Linked DNA regions of Homo sapiens: region 1 is linked to region 2. Evidence: promoter capture Hi-C in human tissues and cell types (Jung and others, 2019). All regions are on one chromosome and are shown on one strand. The core of a region is centred on a gene start or on the middle of the fragment in contact, and the rest is flanking DNA. Distances in the headings are between cores, read along the strand shown. Region 1 overlaps PAFAH2 (platelet activating factor acetylhydrolase 2). Region 2 holds the start of ZNF593 (zinc finger protein 593).

Region 1 (3,137 bases), core at 428-2,927, 180 kb before region 2:
GGTGGAAAATGAACGCATTATCTCTGTCTATTGGGATGTTTCTAATGTTTGGAAAGAGGAAGAAAAAGCTCAGGAAGACAGACCTGGGGGCTTGATAACCAAATCCAGACCCGCTCTAATTCATTTTCCCCACCGTGGGAATACAGGATCAGACTTGTGATCAGTAAGTCACGGTGCCGGCAGAAGCAGTGCAAACAGAAGAAAGGGAGCTGGGGACACTTACCTGGAGATTCTGACCCTCCATCACATCCCCACAGCCTACGAGGTGGGGTCCTGTGACAGGTGGAAAGCCCACAGACTGGTTGACCCCCATTTCATCACCGGGTGAATCAAATGACTTGCCGGAGCTGAACTTGCTGGCTGGATGGGGGAACACAGAACAGCAGCCGCTTGCTGGTTTCCTCTCGGCTTCCTGTTGCTGAAATGTGTTATCTGTTACCCTGTCCACCCCTCCTTAGCACCTCATCCTCCCTGCCGTCGCTCATTAAATCTTGCACCTACTACTTTGCTACATTGCCTTTGCCAAGGTTGGGGGTTGTTTTTTATTTTGCTAGGGTGAGGAGATGGCTGGAAGACGAAAGAGAGCCATCCATACTCCTTACAGCCCATTAACGTATGTTTATCCAGCAGCTACTGCTGCAGAGACTGTCACACAGACCTTGCTCTCCTGAGGCTAATAGTAACCACTAAGATCCATTATTTACGGTTAGCACTGTACTGACCTCTTTATAGACACTATACACATTGCATCATTTCATTGTCTCAACCACTCTCTGAGGTAGGTACTTTTTTTTTTGAGACGGAGTCTCGCTCTGTTGCTAGGCTGGAGTGCAGTGGCATGATCTTGCTCGCTGCAACCTCCGACTCCCTGGTTCAAGCGATTCTCCTGCCTCAGCCTCCTGAGTAGCTGGGATTACAGGCACGTGCCACCATGCCCAGCTAATTTTTTGTTTAATTTTTAGTAGAGACGGGGTTTCGCCATGTTGGCCAGGATGGTCTTGATCTCCTGACCTCGTGATCTACCCACTTTGGCCTCCCAAAGTGCTGGGATTACAGGCGTGAGCCACCGCGCCTGGCCTGAGGTAGGTACTATTAAGACCTTGTTTTGGCCAGGCACGGTGGCTCACGCCTGTAATCCAAGCACTTTGGGAGGTCGAGGCGGGCAGATCACCTGAGGTCAGGAGTTCAAGACCAGCCTGGCCAACATGGCGAAACCCCGTCTCTACTAAAAATACAAAAATTAGCCGGGTGCAGTGGCAGGCACCTATAGTCCCAGCTACTCAGGAAGCTGAGGCAAGAGAATCGCTTGAACCTGGGAGGCAGAGGTTGCAGTGAGCCGAGATTGCACCACTGCACTCCAGCCTGGGTGACAGAGTGAGACCCTGTCTCAAAAAACAAACAAACAAACAAAAGACCCTGTTTTACAGATGAGGAAACTAAGGCATAAAGAGGTTGAATAACCTTCCCAAGTTACCCAGTGGCAAACCCATCTCTGCCTAATCCGGAAGCTAAGTTCTTAACCATTACTGATCCTGCTCAGGGGGAGATTCAGTTATACAGATGCAAAGTTACTGAACTAAGCTTTTTCTTAAAACCGTTTGATTTTTTTGAGAGACAGGGTCTTGCTATGTTGTCCAGGCTGGTCTCAAACTCCTGGGCTCAAACAATACACCTGCCTAGGCCTCCCAAGTAGCTGGGATTACAGGTAAGAGCCACCACACCCAGCTTTTAAACTACTGAATATGGGGTAGCACTTATGCTGGGCCTTTAAAGATGAGGAAGTTGAGAGGCAGGGGAGGAGGAAGAAAGCACTTATAGAAAAAATCCTAAGAGGAAAAAAAGCAGAGGTAGGGAAAAGTATGATGTGGGCAGTAGATCAAACAGATGCTTTCAGCATGACAGGCATGCACACTCCTGACTAGATAACATTCCTACGGCTCAGCTGCTTCCTAAACTGGTGCCAGTGCTCCCCTAACCCTCTTCAGTTTCATCATCTCCAACACCACCATCATCATCATACTTACTCTGTGCCAGGAACTATGTTTAGTGCTTTTCACATATTATTTTATTTAATTCTTTCAACAGTCCTCTGAGATACGTATTATTATCTCATTTTACAGATGAGGAAACAGATGCTTGACAAAGGCAATTTACCCAATAACATATGGCGAGCAGAGCCAGAATTCGATCATGGACAATGTGGTTGTAACATGAGAATGTCAAACTTCCCAGTGTCCCTTGCCTTGTGATTTGGGTGGGGCTGACCCCTCCTTAACCTCCGGAGTTGAGCCTTAATTAACCGGAGCCAATCAGTCCTTCTTATTCTCCGGTCAGTATTTGGATGAAAAGTGCGCGTATGGCATTAGGTTGGTCCAATAGGCGTAAAACCCGGGACTTTGGTATGACGGTTGAGGGGAGAAAAGTTATTTCCTGTGTTGGACTAGTGTGATGTGCAGATGTCACCTGTCAAGTGGCCTTGAACCACAGCAGCCACTTTTGCCACCTTGAGGATGAAGATACCCATGGTGGATGGGAAAACCAGAAGAATCACAGAGAAATAGAGGCCCATTTGTGAAGACATTAAGAATCCACAGATTAGACCATACCTGAAACCTGACCCACTCCTAGACTTTCTAGTTACATGAGTCAGTAAGTTCCCTTTCTTGGTTAAACCAACTGAAGTTAGATTTCTTTTGGTTGTAACCAAAAGCATCTAAATGGATACACACTGAGTCTGGGGTCCACATGTTAATGATTAAATTATTCTGCTTCCTTTAAGATGCTCTGGGAGGGATTCAGGAGTTCCAGTCAAAGCATGTCTGGGTAAGAAGAGACCTAAGGGAGCATTTCCGTCAATCCCCTCCACAATCGTTTTCCCCTTCTCCGCGTACATACACGTGCTTTACCAGGGAAGACACCAAGGTCCGGAGAGATTAAGTGAGCTGCTCAGAGTCACAAGCAGAACGATGATAACAACACACAGTCTCCTGGTTGTCAGCTGCCACTTGTCTGGTCTCAACAATCCTAACATCATTCTATTTAACTTTGAAAGATAAGAAATTATTTTCTTTCTACTACAGATAGCATCTTCATTTTGTTTCTTTTTAGCAAATTTAAAAACAAACCCAATTCTTTTG
Region 2 (3,340 bases), core at 841-3,340:
TTCACCGTGTTGCCCAGGCTGGTCTTGAACTCCTGAGCTCAGGCAATCCACCCACCTCGGCCTCCCAAAGTGCTAGGATTACAGGCATGAGCCACCGTGCCCGGCCCAGCCTGTTTTTTGTTGTTGTTGTTTGTTTGCTTGTTTTTTGTAATGTCAGAACAAAGCATGGTCTAAGTATGGCTTTGATCTGATGCTGCTGCAGTGACCTTTCTAGTACAGGCGCCACTCCCCCTACCTCTAGTAACATGGGGCTCACTACATCACTCCTACTTCTGCTCCCATTAGAAAGTTGTGTCCAGCTAAGTGTGCCCGTGTGCCTACTGCCCACTGGTCCTAGAAGAATCTCTTCCATGTGGCAGCCTCGAGATCTTTGGAGACAGTGGCCACTCCTCCCATGGTCCCTAAGTCTTTTCTTCCTCAGTTTTCTTGAATGTCCTGGCTTTCTGATGCTGCACCATGGTTTTTACCATCCCTGAATGTGGCATCTGCACAAATGTGGCCCCCCCACCTCCAAGCCTATCCTGTGCCCCACTTCATACTGCTCATTCCTGCTGCCCCTCTGCACATGCTCCACCCACCATGCATGGATGGCACCCACCTCCTCTGCCAGGTCTTCTTCAGATTCCCCACTCAGGGTCTGTAGCACTTTGGACTTGTAGGTTTTCCAGAAGGCCTGGTTCATGGCTGCAGGGGGAAGGGGCCTGGCACGCAAGCACAGGAAGGTGGTGGCTCAGTGGATACCAGTGAGTCTGGCTCTAGGAACTTGGTGAGGCCAAGAGCCTGTCCGAGGGATCCAGTGACTTCATTAAAGATGCACCAGCCTCCCCAGCTGGCACAGTGCCCAGGAGGTGAACCTGATCCAAAGGAGTCGGGGAGTGGGGGATGGAACAAGCTTCTGCCACCTTAGCCCCTTGTCTTGACCCATATTGGCCAAGAATAATGAAGTCATTTGTCTCTAGAGAGGCTTTCTTCCTGGGCCTAGGAGTACTTGAGTTGTTCATCTCTTAGCATGCCTCCAGGAAAATCTTCTTCCATTCACAAAATCCTGAGGTCTGGGACCCACACTGGAGCCCCTGTGACTGTAGTCATACTAGTTGTGTCCTCAGCAGGGCTCCACCCTGTGTCCCTACTTAGCCTCAATGAACTGGAGCAGGAAGGTCCGCAGGCCCCCAGTGGGCACCTTGGGCTTACATTTCACTCCTTTGTCTGGGCTGGAAACTGATTCCTCTCCCCAGGGATACACGTGCCTGTCTCCTTGTTTCCTGGCAACAGACTCCAAAGAGCTGGAGCCCCTGAATTATTGCTAAGCTCCTCTGGCCCCTTCCAGCTGAGTTGGCTCTGGCCAGCCTGGGAGGCACCAGGCTCCTGTGAATGGGGAAAGGCCCTCTAGCCACTCTGAGCATGCAACACCTAGGCCTTTGCTGCCAGCCCACCTCTGGGAGCCCAGGGCTTAGAGAAAGGAGGCAAAGATGGAGAGGTCCTTCTATGAGTACTTGTGAGAGGAACTGATCCCTCTGGAGTCTGGATGCCTGAGGACTGCACTCTCTGGGGAGGAACACCCTTCACGGATTTGGTTGGGGTCAGAGAGAGGATGGAGACTCAAGGGAATAACGGGAGCCCGGAGAAGTGAGGGCTTTTTCAGGGACTGGAGATTATCTCGGGAAGCCCTGGTGGGGCTGGGATTCCAAACTTATTCACTCTCAGTCATTTACTAATTTATTCATGACACAGACATTTATCAGTGCTTTCCAGAGATAAAGCATCCCACCCCCACCGCGGAGTCCAAGGTCTGGGAAACAGGAAGGGATGACAGGAGTACAGGTTGGCACTGATACTGGTTGGACCAGGCCAGGAAGAGCAGGGCAGCAAGACGGCCCCGAAACCCCCAGGCGCACGCACCACCCCGCGCCTCCCCAGCGAGGGCCCGCGGGGCCATGCCCTTCAGTGGGCACACTTCTGGGAGCCCGTCCTGAGCTCGGTCACTGACGTCGACGGCCGCCTGGCGGCGCTCGAGCCGCTGGCCGAGAGTGACGTCATCAGAGGCGGTCCGGCCGAGCCTGCCTAGCCCCCCGGCGTGGCCTGACGTAGCTGATCGGCCCGGAAGTGCTCACACGTGTGCTCCCTGCCCTGCTCCTGGCCCCTTGGCCGGCCGGGCTGTTTCTGGCCATGGGTCGCTCCCGCCGGACAGGCGCGCACCGAGCGCACTCTCTAGCCCGGCAGATGAAGGCGAAGCGGCGGCGGCCGGACTTGGATGAGATTCACCGCGAGCTGCGGCCTCAGGGATCCGCACGACCCCAGCCCGACCCAAACGCCGAGTTCGACCCCGACCTGCCAGGGGGCGGTCTGCACCGCTGTCTGGCCTGCGCGTGAGTCCCGGACGAGCCCGGCCTGGGGCGGAGGAGGGTCCGCGGTACCGGCCGGGAGATGTGAAGTTGAAGCCCCAGGCAGCGCAGAGTCTTCTCTCTTGGGACCCGTGGGTCCGCCCGCCTCCCGTTTCTCAGACCCGGATCCTGGCGTCAGGGACAAGCTAGGGCTAGGGAGATAGGTGCACTTGGGAGACTATCACCTCCTCACTCTCCTTCTCACTTCCATTCCTACAGGAGGTACTTCATCGATTCCACCAACCTGAAGACCCACTTCCGATCCAAAGACCACAAGAAAAGGTATGAAGGAGTAAGGAGAGGATTGATGGATGGGTGCTCAGCAGATAGGGCTCTCACCTGGTCAGCTCCCAACTCCTGTTTTTCTTTCTCCCAGGCTGAAGCAGCTGAGCGTCGAGCCCTACAGTCAGGAAGAGGCGGAGAGGGCAGCGGGTATGGGATCCTATGTGCCCCCCAGGCGGCTGGCAGTGCCCACGGAAGTGTCCACTGAGGTCCCTGAGATGGATACCTCTACCTGACATGGCCTGAAGATGCAGGGCAGAGGAATTGCCCATGGACAGTGACGCAAGGACTAGGCTGGGAGGGAGCGTGCCAACCCCTTTTGCCTCTGGGTTTGGGGAGCGGAGGGCCTCTTCTTGGTGCCCTGCCCCAAATAAAGGAACTGGACAAAGAGAACTTGCCTCCAACTCTAACTTCCAGGCCGCTGTCTCAAACTCCTGCCCTGGAAGGGCTTCTCTACTACTTTCTGTACACCAGGCCTAGGGTGTCTACTCCCCACTTGGTCTATCTCTGCCTTCCCTCTGAGGTCCTAGCATCTGAACTGGAGCACCCAGATGGAGGCCTGATGCAGTGTGGGGTGGCGGGAGTGGGATCAGATTACTCTGTCCTGCTTCTGACAGAGACTGATCCCCAGAAAAGAAGGCTTCTGAGATTGCACCCCCCTCCCGAGTCACCTACCC

What was found. The method cuts DNA at HindIII sites, captures the fragments that hold promoters and counts their contacts. A contact is called where the count stands out against the background at its distance.
Region 1: a contact is called between a fragment that was not itself captured here and the fragment with the promoter of ZNF593 in region 2, in 1 of the 25 tissues and cell types used here (pancreas).

The regions. Positions count from the first base shown.
Region 1 is chr1:25,990,504-25,993,640 of GRCh38, forward strand. PAFAH2 (platelet activating factor acetylhydrolase 2) reads right to left here. Exons shown (of 11, transcript NM_000437.4): 2 at 224-360. The coding sequence starts at 313. Among named protein-coding and RNA genes, the nearest start is that of PAFAH2, 6.0 kb to the right of the region's middle. RefSeq lists an enhancer at 3,068-3,137. The HindIII fragment of the contact is 7,134 bases long and covers 1-3,137 here.
Region 2 is chr1:26,167,818-26,171,157 of GRCh38, forward strand. ZNF593 (zinc finger protein 593) reads left to right here and starts at 2,091. Exons shown (of 3, transcript NM_015871.5): 1 at 2,091-2,366; 2 at 2,601-2,663; 3 at 2,758-3,056. The coding sequence starts at 2,167. The coding sequence ends at 2,899. It overlaps C1orf232 (chromosome 1 open reading frame 230), which reads right to left and starts at 1,146. Exons shown (of 4, transcript NM_001364669.2): 1 at 599-1,146. The coding sequence starts at 682. ZNF593OS (ZNF593 opposite strand) reads right to left here. Exons shown (of 4, transcript NM_001395468.1): 3 at 3,339-3,340; 4 at 1,704-2,781. RefSeq lists a silencer at 472-627 and an enhancer at 1,861-1,960. The HindIII fragment of the contact is 4,053 bases long and covers 1-3,121 here.